2 separate regions of the Homo sapiens genome follow, and region 1 is linked to region 2. Evidence: promoter capture Hi-C in 16 types of primary human blood cells and fetal thymus (Javierre and others, 2016). All regions are on one chromosome and are shown on one strand. The core of a region is centred on a gene start or on the middle of the fragment in contact, and the rest is flanking DNA. Distances in the headings are between cores, read along the strand shown.

Region 1 (6,503 bases), core at 1,518-4,017, 96 kb before region 2:
TACCAGAAAGTTCAAGATTAGGTATCATTTATTCCTATGAGTATTGAGAAGCTGCATGGGATCTAGTGGCTGGTGCAAAGTTGGAGGCACTCCTTCTAGGGGAAAGAGGAAAAGCTGCTAGTCTTTGCAAAGTTGTGTGTGTGTGTGTGTGTGTGTGTGTGTGTGTGTGTGTGTATATAAATTTTTTTTTTTTTTTTTTTGGAGACAGAGTCTCGCTGCAACGCCCCAGGCTGGAGTGCAGTGGCGTGATCTTGGCTCACTGCAACCTCTGCCTCCCAGGTTCAAAGCAATTCTCCTGCCTCCGCCTCCTGAGTAGTTGGGATTACAGGCATGTGCCATCATGCCCAGCTAATTTTTGTATTTTTAGTACAGACGGGGTTTCACCACGTTGGCCAGGCTGGTCTCAAACTCTTGACCGCGGGTGATCCACCCGCCTTGGTCTCCCAAAGTGCTGGGATTACAGGTGTGAGCCACTGCGCCTGGCCATAAAGTTGTATTTTTATACTGTCTCTTCTGTTGGTTGAAGGGAATTCATTGGTCCCAGCCAGGTTGTTGCTAAGCAAGCCAGAGGGAGTTGGGGTCATATTCAGACAATCTTGAGTATCCCTCCACATATAAAAAATAAATATAAATGTAATGGAGAAACCAGTTGATATCATGTAAAGATGATGTTTCTCTTGCAATTATTTATAGTTCAATCAGAATCCCAACAGGGATTTCCCAGAACCTGAAAAGGTGATCTTAAAAGTCGTATGGAAGATTAAAGTGCCAAGAATGGCTTGTTACACATGGACCTGTTTTCATAGTAATTACAGTTGGAGTTTTTAAATGAGTCTGTTAAATGAGGCTATGATACTGCTGCTCTAAGACCTGAAAAGACTTACTTCTCTGGCTTAGCAGTAAGGATTTGATACCCAGATGGGAGACATACTTTGAGAAAGATGGGTTGAGAGACAATGGACCAGAGGGTAATTGGGACAGGTATAAACATAGGATTTCATCCTATCATTTCAAGTACCCTTTCTCATTTTTTCCTGTTCAGCTATTGCTTTTCCTGTCTGCATGTACCATTATTACCTACTCTTTAGGTTCTATTAAGTTGAGATGGGTTTTAGGATTTGGGAGAAAGTCTGATTTTTCTTCTACTGTGGTCTACAAATTCACTGTTATTCTGAATGTTTGCTTCCAGTAGAGTTAGACAATGATTACTTTCAACCCCAGAATAAAGATATGATTCTAGTTTCTGGAGAACCATCTGTAAAAGGCTGAGAGACCCTTCTAGACCAGTTATTAGGAAATGTGGCCACTGATTCTTAATCTCTTGAAAGTGAAAGCTTGGTTATCACTGTGAATGTAGTATTGCAGCAAAAATTTGAGAAGTGTATCTGAGTAGACTTTCAAGAGAAAAATGAAGAATGAAGATAGTGCTATGATGCTTTGACTTGAGTATGTGTGTACAGTATATATTTCTCCAGTGCAGTCCCCTATACCTGCCCCAGCTTTAGAATATACCTTCTGTGTTTGTGTAAACAAACTTCATTTGATCTATCAGTGATATTGAAACAGTGAACTAGAAATCTGCAACTTAGTAACTGAAATACATTAAATTCTAGTGAAATTGATCAAGATGAGTGATTGTTATTCTACTTTGGATTATATCATTACATACTACATTATTCCAACTAGTTCAGATTTTTAAAATTTAGATTTTAGAAGTATGCAAATACTGCTTTTAAAATAGGAATAGAGGGAAAGAACATTGTAATGGAAGAAAAGAACTTGATTGATCTCTAGAATTTTCTAATTAACCATTTTGTTTTGTTTTGTTTTTAGCTCATGCCTTCAAACCAACAGCATAAAACAGATGAGAAAGGCAGGGCTAATTTGGGAGTATTCAGTGTTTTTGCCCCTAGGTAAGAACCAAAAGTTTGATAGTTGTTGGTGTTATAGAGATTCGTTTTTCTTACTGCTTGCCGAAGTTACAGCTAATGACTATCCTTCTGTTTAATGTTAGGCAAGAGTTGGGACTGAATAGAAGTTGAGAGGTTTTTCTAAGAGTTGAACTTTGCATAAATTGTCTCAGAATTTTTAGGTTATTAACTAATGTAATTTGAACCCCTCTCCTCTTTTGTTTTGTTAGGGGAGAGCATACTCTTCAGGTTAAAGCCATCTATAACAAAAGTATCATAGAAGGACCTATAATTAAGTTAATGATTCTTCCAGACCCAGAAAAACCCGTTCGTCTCAATGTTAAATATGACAAAGATGCATCCTTCTTAGCAGGGGGTCTTTTCACTGGTGAGTATTTCACATACATAAATAAATCTATAATGATAATTTGCTTTGTACATTAGTGGAATAAATTACTTATCCTAGGTTAAGTGTGCTCAGTCTAATGTAGGAGACAGGGAAGCAAATGATTTCAATATCATGTTGCAGATGTTAAGTCAATAGGAAATTAGTTTTTGTTTTACACAAATAATTTTCTGGAAGACTTCTGTTTTCTTAAAAGGATGAATCCCTATACATAGTTTTAAGTAGTGAATGAAGCACCTCAAAGTTTAGATTTAAAAATTGTTGACAATAATTTTTAATAATCAAGTTACATGTATACATAGCTTTTTTTACCCTATAAAGTAGACTATACCGTATATAAAGTTTTAAATCTATTTCAGGGAGATCTATTTCCTGTGATTAAAAAATTAGTAACAGGTGCCAAATGAATGTTACAGGTGGTAAATATAATGGGAATATTATATATATTGATCTTTTGGCTATTATATGCTATCGAAAATCATACAAGAAAGTAAATATTCTGTTCTTGGAATACATAAAGCATATGGTGCTATGACCAATTGGCCTAACTCTTAAGTTGCTGAGTATACATTCTAGTCTTTTTGGTCTTGTATGCTAGAATTTATACATTTCTTCATCAGAATTGTATTAACATTTAAATAACGTGTGCTTTAAACATTTAAATAAGATGTTTGCTTTAAGGCATACAATTATTTAACCATATCCATTAATTGAACTAGAAAGAGATAATTTTTTAACGTTTACCATGACAGATTTTATGATTAGTGTTATTTCTGAAGATGACAGTATCATTAAAAACATTAATCCAGCACGTATTTCCATGAAAATGTGGAAGCTGTCTACCAGTGGGAACCGACCCCCAGCAAATGTGAGTCATGGGAAGCATTTTTTGAAGTTAAAAATAGTTCTTACATTTAACTTAAAACTAAGTCTCCTTTAATGTAAATATATAATGTTATATAAATTTGAGAAATGGAAGTGAATTTACTTCATTCCTTTGGGGTTAAAGAAATTACATCAATGTATGTTTCAAAATTAAAGATTGATGCTATTGAAAAAGAGTAGTCTACATTGTGATGTTTCTTAACATTTTAAGATGCCTACACATTAAAATTATTTCATCTGAAGGACAGTAGCACAAGGCAGAAGCTATTAAATATGAGGGGATAATATAGAAAATGAGATAGTAAAGAGATAGGATTGATAGACTGCTTGAAAGAGAGTGGAGAGTTAGAGGGTCTAGAACAGTGCTGTCCAGTGGAAAGATCATACCTGGTGTTTCTGCTTTCTAGTAGCTACATTTAAAAGCTAAAAAGAAATAAGTAAAATTCTAATGTTTTTAACCTAATATATCAAAAGTTACCATTTCAACATATATTCAATAGTTTAAAAATTATTGCTAGGATTTTACGTTCTTTTATCTTACCAAGTCTATGAAATTTGGTGTTTATTTTACACTGTATATCAGTTCAGACCAGCCACATTTCAAGTGCCCAGTAGTCACACATAGCCATTGGCTACCATATTGGATAATGCAGATCTGAAATAAATCTAAAATTGGGAACTAAAGTTTATCAGTGTCCTGATATAATAATCTACTTCAACATTTATGGTTCATTTTAATCATTGGTTTTGGAAACTATCTTGCTTAATTAATCCTGAATCTTTGCTTGCTTAATTTAGACCATCAGTCCAATCAAGTTGGTATTATCTTTAAATAATATCACCATAAAGTTCTACTGTGTGTCTTTTAATAATGGGGTGTCTTTCCACTGTCACTAATCTCACATTGTACCTTACATGTATTATGAAGATATAAACGTGTGTATATATACCTGTATGTTTATAAATGGAATCCAGATACACATTCAGTTTAGGTATATAATAAGCTTTCCTCCTAAGTATACTATGTTAAATTTTGTCATTTTCCCCTCTCCCCTTCTCTCCTACTCCCCTTTCTAGGCAGAAACATTTAGTTGTAATAAAATAAAAGATAATGACAAAGAAGATGGCTGCTTCTATTTCAGGTATTTCTCAAAACATTTCATATTTTGAATACATATCTTGTTACAAAGTAATTCAACCCTGGAGATATATGTGGGCTCACCTGAGGAAAAGTAATTTATGATCAAATAGAAATGTTAGTGTCTCTAAATTTTTCTCAGTTTTTTGGGAAAAGGTGTGTTTTCGTTTTTAAGCATTAAATTGGTTTTAAGCTTTGTAAATTGTAATTGTATTTGCTTTTGAAACTATCGAAGCCATCAGAAGAATTCTTTTATGTTGTCAGGGCACTTTATAACTTCTTATTATATAGGAGGTTTCTATAAAGATTAGACTGGCTTTTAACATTTCTGTGACTTTGAGCATGTTGCTGCTTCATTCTGGACCTCCATTTTCAAATCTAAAAACATTATGTGTTAAGTTTCTTTACAAATCCTTTATCATCAATAGGGTCAAAATGCTCATTATATTTGTTCAGTGCTTTTTCAGACTAATTGGTAAAGGACCAATCATGGAAGCTCCACCCCTTACCTCTTCCAGTTATTACCGTCTTCCTTCCTGTTGTGCATGCCATGCACACACTCATGTAGACACACACATGCACACACCACAAACCCTCTCCTGATTTGGTCTTATTTAGAGTTCCGTTTATCTTAGCATACATCTCTATAGTCTCTGATTTAGTTGTGCCCATTTTTGAACTTGATATACAATTATTTTCCTTTGCATAAGACTTCTTTCACTCAGCATCATGAGATTCTGTGGCATATAGCTATAAATTCATTCATTTCCATTGCTGTATAGAAGTCCATTGTGTGAACACACTACTATTTTCCATTCTGTTAATGGCTATTTGCATTTTCAATTTTGGGCTATTACAAATAATCTTTATAACACTGGTGCTCATATAAAAGTAAAATTGCTGGGTCATAAGTTCATAGATGTGTATATTTAAATATAGATGTGTATGTTAGATGTTAAATATAGATGTTAAACATAGATGTGTGTGTTTAACTTGAGTAGCTTGAGGGTTTATTTCTTTTTAATACATAGCCTTGCTAGAGTGCAATGCCTAGAGTGCAGTGGCTCACTGCAACCTCTGCTTCCCTGGCTCAAGCGAGCCCCCTGCCTCAGCCTCCCAAGTAGCTAGGACTACAGGAATGTGCTGCCATGCCCAGCAAATTTATTTATTTATTTATTTTGTGTGTGTGTGGAGACTGGGTTTCACCAAGTTGCTCTGGCTAGTCTCGAACTCCTGAGCTCAAAGCCATCTGCCCACCTCAGCCTCCCAAAATGGTGGGATTACAAGCATGAGCCACCGTGCCCGGCCCTTCCCAACACGGTTTTGTGGGTCTTTTCAGGTGTAATCTTCTGGTGGACATGTAATAGAGTGGCATCACACTTACTCTTAATTTGCATTTCCCTGTTTATCATATATTTATTGGCCACTTAGATTACCTTTTGTGAAGTGCCTTTTTTGAGTATCTTAATAACTTTTGTATTATTTTTTATATTAATTTGTAGGAGTTCTTTATATATTAGAGATACAAGCCTTTTGTTTAGACATCTTTGCCTATCCTGTGGCTTGCTTTCTCATTTTATGATATCTTGAACAGCAGTGGTTAATTTTTATATAAGCAAATGTGTTAATCATCTTTTTTATAGTTGATCTTCTTTGTGTCCTGTTTAAGTCTTTCCTTACATTTAGGTCATCAACACATTTTACTATATTATTGTGTTGGGGGTTCCCAATACCAATGCCAGGTTTGATGATTCACCAGGAGGACTCACAGGACTTAATATATAGCTGGGCTCATAGCTATGTTTTATTGAAACAAAAGGATTCAAAGTGAAATGAGCAAGGTAAAAAGCTCATGGGGTGATGTCCAAGGGAAAGCAGACACAGAGGAAGCTTTCCAAGGATTCTGTCTTGGTGAAGTCACAGAGTATGTGCTTAATTCCCCAACAATAAATTGTGACAATGCGTATAAAATGTTGTCAACCAGGGAAGCTCACTGGGGACTCAGCATTCAGGGTTTTTGTTAGGGTGTGGTCACATAGGCAGCCTCTGCCTAGCAAATACCAGATTTTCAGAAGAAAAGCAAGTGTGTAGCATAAACCATATTAGTGCAGTGGTTTAGGCAATGTGAGCCACTCATATCAGTTAAAGGTGAGAACCCTCCTGA
Region 2 (6,011 bases), core at 2,046-4,545:
ACTTGGCAGCATATAAAAAATTCATACTTGCAGCTTTCTGGCAGTCATATCCACGTTATTGTTCATGGCAGGGATCAGAAGTCCTGCCCAATTAGTCTGTTTCTTAGTGTGCTGAAGCTCTCTATCCTCCGGAAGCTTCCCTCTGTCTTGTTTCTTATGCAGGGCTCTCTGGTTCCTGAGTTTGTTGCATCCCTTCCTCCAGCTGGAGTAGAGAAAACAAAGAGGGTCTCTTGGGATCTTGGCCTCAAATCAAGAAATAACCTTGTGGCTGGGCACAGTGGCTAATGCCTGTAATCCCAAGACTTTAGGAGGCGAAGGCAGGAGGATTGCTTGAAACCAGGAGTTCAAGATCAACCTGGGCAACAAAGTTAGACCCCCCCGCCCATCTCTACAAAAAATAAAAAATTAGCTGGGCATGGTGGTGTGTGCCTGTACTCCTAGCTGCTTAGAAGACTGAAGTAGGAGGATCACTTGAGCCCAGGAGTTGGAGGCTATAGTGAGCTGTGATGGTATACAAAAAATCAGCCTGTTATGGTGGTGTGCGCCTGTAGTCCCAGCTATTCAGGAGACTGAGGCAGGAGGATTGCTTGAGCCCAGGGATATCGAGGCTGCAGTGCACCATGATTGCACCACTGTACTGCAGCCTAGATGAGAGAGCAAGACTCCATCTCAAGAGAAAAAAAAAAAACAAAAAAGTAAAAGAATGGAATAATAGGCCGGGCACAGTGGCTCATGCCTGAAATCCCAGCACTTTAAAAAGCCAAGACAGGAGGATGGCTTGAGATTAAGTGTTCAAGACCAGCCTGGGAAACGTGGTGAGATCCCATCACTACCAAAAATTCAAAAAATTAGCTGAGTGTAATGGCACACACCTGTGGTCTCAGCTACTCAGGAGGCTAAGGTAGGAGGATTGCTTGAGCCTGGGAGGTCGAGGCTGCAGTGAGCCATGATCATGCCACTGGACTCCAGCATGGGTGACAGAGTGAGACCCTTTCCCCCAAATAAATAAATAAAAATACAAAAGAGGGAAGTAACCTTCTGAAAGTCAAGAATGTTCTGTCTTCCAGGGGCAGACCCACAATAACATACATGGGCTTATGTCTAGAGAAAGACATGCAATAAACATTAGCTCACTTAGTTGACTGTCCATCAGGAACGCTAACACCCTTCATTGCATGGCAATGCCTGGAAGCTCTCCAAACACAAGCCCCGTGTCAGTTTGGGCTCACTCATGAATCCTCAGTATTTTTGCACAATGCCTAGCTTGTAACAGATGCTCAGAATGAAATTTATTTACCAATAAATGTTATTGATAGCTGATTAAATATAGTATTGTGGTCATCTCAATGACAAGTTGGCCCTTATACTCTTAGACAACTTCCTATTATAACTTTGATTTGACGGAAAAAACAGATTGACTTGATCAGTTCAATGCACTTTCAAGTTTGAGATTTACCTGTACCAGACACACATTGGAGTTGTTCTCTGCTAATTGTAGACACACACAACTTGTGTGTTTCCCCCATTTCCCCCCCTCTTCCTCTTCTTCATTTCTATACTCTGTTTCTACTCTATGAGTCTTTACGGCCAAGATGGTGTTAGGACAGGCAGGATAGGGAAGTCACACAGAAAGATACAGATTGGGTTACGAAAGACAGCTTTTTATCCCTTTCTGTTATTTCCCCCCCACGGTGGCTCTTTTGAAGGCTGGGATGACTTCAGTCCACTATTTGCATGATCTTCCGCTTAAGAGTCCAGGGACAGATGATGTCCTTACATGGTATAATGTTCTGCTTGGCCCTTGTAGTTTCTACTTAGGGACTTCTCTTTCTTTCATCTGCAAATCAAAAGGTCCAACAACACCATCAAAGAATATTAGAAACAAAATAGACCAATGGCTTCATTTAGTAAAGTAGGAACATAGCAAACGTTTTTATTTTTTATTTTTTGCGACAGATTTTCACTCTTTTTGCCCAGGCTGGAGTGCAGTGGTGAGATCCCGGCTCACTGCAACCTCCATCTCTCTGGTTCAAGCGATTCTCCTGCCTCAGCCTCCCAAGTAGCTGGGATTACAGGCATGTGCCACCGTGCCCGGCAAATTTTTTTTTTTTTTTTGTACTTTTAGTAGAGACGGGGTTTCTCCATGTTGGTCAGGCTGGTCTTGAACTCCCGACGTCAGGTGATCCACCCGCCTCGACCTCCCAAAGTGCTGGGATTACAGGCGTGAGCCACCCCGCCTGGCCCATAGCAAAGCTTTATTCACTTAACGAGTCATGGCCAACAGCGTCTGGTTAGCTCACAGAGGCCACAGTTTTATCTGTGGAGTCTGGTAACCACGCCACTCACGACCCTGTACATTGATTAGATGCAGCAGGTCATCTCAAACACACAGCTCTCTCCAACACCCCTTAGAATACAACACTTGGGTGGTGATTTTACTTAACATTCTGGTACTTCATCCCAAAAAGACATCGGTAGAGATTAGTGTAACTCAACAACAGGCAGAAAACATACAAGAAAGTTTAAGACGGATGTCTAGCAGTGCCTGAACTGTTAAGAAGCAAACGTGAGTAAATGCCTTAGTTTCAATAGAAAAAGAAAGTTCACAGTGGGACCTCAGAAGCAGAGGCTGTGAGATCACCTTTCAAGAATTGGAGGAGAATTGCAGTAAGTGATAGAGCCGGACGCTGAGCTGCAGCAGCCTCTGGGAATTGGCGGGGCTGTGGCTTGTCCTGTCCTGCCGCCCCCCGCGTGGCCTCGGAAACTGTCAGATGGTGCCTAAGGCAGAGTTGGGCAAAGAAAGAACCAGCGTTCGTTTCCTCCTGGACTCTCTAGGTCCATGGAGCTGGTGGGGGAACGGCCCTGTCTTGCCCGAGGAGGAAATTCGAGTCGAGCCCCCACTCCTCTCCCCGCGGGACTGATAAACATGTCCCTCATTCGCCCCGGGAGGCTGGCACCCAGGCACGACGCGAGGACGGCCAGACTCGCCGACGGCGGCCGCGTCCCGGGGGGCCGGGAGCGAGCCTGTCGGAAGGTGGGAGGCGGAGTCGCTCGGCATCTGGGAAGAGACCAAAGGAATGAGTCATTGGAAATGCTGTAACGTAGACCCTTATCCCAAACCCTTTCGCCCCTCCACCCCGAGCCCCCTGCCGAGAAGCGAAGGGACTGGAGACGGGGAGACTTGGTGGGGGGAGAGTCACGTTTCGGAGAGGGAAGTGAAATAAAGAGGGCGGCACCCGGGGGGACCTGTGCGTCATTGAGGGACCGGGGAGAAGCGCAGGGCGCACGGGGCTGCAGAAGGAGAAGTAGGAACGAGAAGCCGGAGGGGGCGGCCGCGGAGCACTGGTTGGAGCGCCGCGAAGCGCCCGAGCCTCTTGCCTTCGCGGGCGGCGCCCTGGCCGCCGGCAGCCTTGTGGCCGGTGCCCCGATCCGCCGCGCTCCGGACCCGGGCAGGCGGGGCGCGCCCGCTGCGCGCGGGATGTGGCAGCCCAGACGGCCCTGGCCCCGCGTGCCCTGGCGCTGGGCGCTGGCGCTGCTGGCCCTGGTTGGCGCGGGGCTGTGCCACGCCGGCCCGCAGCCCGGGTATCCCGCGCGGCCCAGCGCCAGGAACAAGTAAGTGCGCGCCCCTTGGCTGGCCCCAAACCGCCTACCCCTCCCCGGCCCCCAGTTGAGCCCCAGAGCTGCCCTGCCAAAGACGACGAGCGGCAGCCGGGGGCCTCCCTTGGACTTCCCCGGGCGGCTCCCTCTGCGGGGGACCGCGCGCTCCGCAGCCGGCGCCTCAGGCAGAGCTGACTCCGGGGGCGTGGGCGCAGAGAGCGTCCCGCAGACCCGGGCGATCCGAAAACGACTCCCAGGAATTCCATGAGCCCCTGGGACCATGGGTGCTTTTCTTTCCCGTCTTGGTCGGGTCCAGGCGCGCGCTCTCCAGAGGCGCACCCGGGCACCCTCCGGCGTCTGCTCGGTGAAGCTCCCGCCTCCGCAGAGGGCGACGGGCCCCCCCGACCCTCGCTCGGTCTGGTGCCGCAGTCCCCTCTCCCCTGGCCTCATTGTTCTCCGGGTTTACCCCGTGCCCCTCTCCCTCTCTCTCCTGCACCCCAGGAACTGGTGCGCCTACATCGTGAACAAGAATGTGAGCTGCTCCGTGCTGGAGGGAAGTGAGAGTTTTATTCAGGCTCAGTACAACTGTGCCTGGAACCAGATGCCCTGTCCGTCGGCGCTGGTGTAAGTCCTGGAGCCGGGGAGCGGGCGGGGCGCGCCCGGGCCGGGGCGGTGGGGGTGGGGTGGGGTTGCTGCGCTGGGCTCCAGTCCCTCCGGTAAATCCCTTCCAGATCCGGTGAAAAGCCCGCAGCGGAAAAGCGCTCCGAGCGCTCGCGGGGCACCGGCCACGCTGGGCTATTTAGGGAGTGGGTGCTGCCCGAGTGAGTGGGGAGGATGCGCGCGCCTCGGGAGTGTGGGGTCGCGGGGGCGTAGGAGAGGATGAACAAAGCTCCCACTCCCACTTCTGTTTTCTCCCTTTCAATGTTTGTTTGTAACATAAGGCAGCTGAATCTAATTGGATCCATATTGTGTGTTCTGGGGCACACAGAAGATTCCAAAATGTATACTGCTAAAGACTATTCCGTATAGGATTCGCTGAGAGGTTTGGCTAAGTAGTGTTCTAAAACGAGTGAGTTCTGTCCGTATGTCCCCATAAAACGGAATCTTCCAGTTTTGTAGATGTCTAAGCTAAAACCTCAGGAACACTTTGCTTAAAAGTGTGGCTCCCCAGCATCCCTCCCCGCAACTTAGATTTGGAGATTCTCTAGAGATTGTGGGAGAGAATGGCCGTTAAAGACAGGGGGAAGAATTAATCATCTTTTTGCTTATAAAGATTTCCCCATCTTAAAAAAAAAAAAAAACAGGAAGCAATGCAATAAAGTACAAATGCCGTTAAATACATGACACTCATTCAATTGTCATCAGGCAAGTCTTTGGGGGTTTTGTATCAGTCTGATACCGGAAGATGGGCCAGTGTGAATAAATGGCTGTTGAGGAACACATGTGATGGCTGAAATTAATTGTTTTCCACTAAGAATAAGTTGTTTGTCTTAGAGCACAGTTGTCATTACAGCAGAGAATAGTCAGTAGGCGGATCTGTCTTTGGCAAAACCAAGGGACAGACTGGAACTTGTACTCCAGGAAACCTTATTCCAGAGAACAGTAGATGAGCCTGTAGTCTTATGGGAAGTGGTCGCTGGGTCCACCCCACGTGGGCTTCTGGAGGAGCTGCCAACAGGGTTCAGCTAATTCCTGCTCGGCAAAAACAAAGTAAAACAAACAGAAACTTAGACGAGGTCCCCATTTCCTAATATACAGTGGAAAACGCTGAAATTGAATGCCCAGCTAGGCTATCTCTTTGAGTTGGATACATTGTCAGAGAGATAAGGTACTGTCATCCAACCTTAATCTCTTAGTAAGATTGAGACCTCATCGTCTATGGCCAGCAGTCAACGACATCAGAACCAAGCAAGGTTTTTACACTGTGGGAGTGATACAAACTAAGTATTCAACTCAGTTTGAATGCATTTGTTTAAAATTAGAATTGAGTTATTAGTCAGGAATATTTTATTCATCTTATACAAGAACTGCATGGTGTGGCTTGCTATAACCTTAAAACTTACTGGTGACAATTCGGAGATAAATGAATTTTTCATTTTGGGAGGTAATGCATTTTTGTTTAAAAGATGGCTTGTTTTTATTTTCTCAAATTATTTTAGCTGCTTGGAAAACCAAAGGATGATTTAATTGTTCTATTTGACCAAAACTCAGTGAAACTTGGCTGTCAGTGGGGAGTGAATCGCCTCCAGATTGGCAGGTCAATGCAAGGCAGTGGGAGTGCATTTTTGCCACCCAGTGAGTAGGACAACAGAATTATTATAAAAAATGACAGATGTTTCTGTTGTTTTATTAAACAAAGCCAAAATAAGTGACCTGGATGTTTTATTTCAATAATAACCATATAAACAATACAA

The links. The method cuts DNA at HindIII sites, captures the fragments that hold promoters and counts their contacts. A CHiCAGO score of 5 or more calls a contact.
Region 1: a fragment that was not itself captured here is called in contact with the fragment with the promoter of EMILIN2 in region 2 in 2 of 17 cell types (monocytes and M1 macrophages); the score reaches 8.2 in monocytes.

What each region holds. Positions count from the first base shown.
Region 1 is chr18:2,748,210-2,754,712 of GRCh38, forward strand. It overlaps SMCHD1 (structural maintenance of chromosomes flexible hinge domain containing 1), which reads left to right. Exons shown (of 48, transcript NM_015295.3): 31 at 1,834-1,913; 32 at 2,141-2,298; 33 at 3,069-3,184; 34 at 4,279-4,343. Among named protein-coding and RNA genes, the nearest start is that of EMILIN2, 96 kb to the right of the region's middle. The HindIII fragment of the contact is 2,871 bases long and covers 1,333-4,203 here.
Region 2 is chr18:2,843,711-2,849,721 of GRCh38, forward strand. It overlaps EMILIN2 (elastin microfibril interfacer 2), which reads left to right and starts at 3,296. Exons shown (of 8, transcript NM_032048.3): 1 at 3,296-3,612; 2 at 4,099-4,221. The coding sequence starts at 3,479. RefSeq lists silencers at 3,514-3,563, 4,184-4,273. The HindIII fragment of the contact is 11,570 bases long and covers 2,252-6,011 here.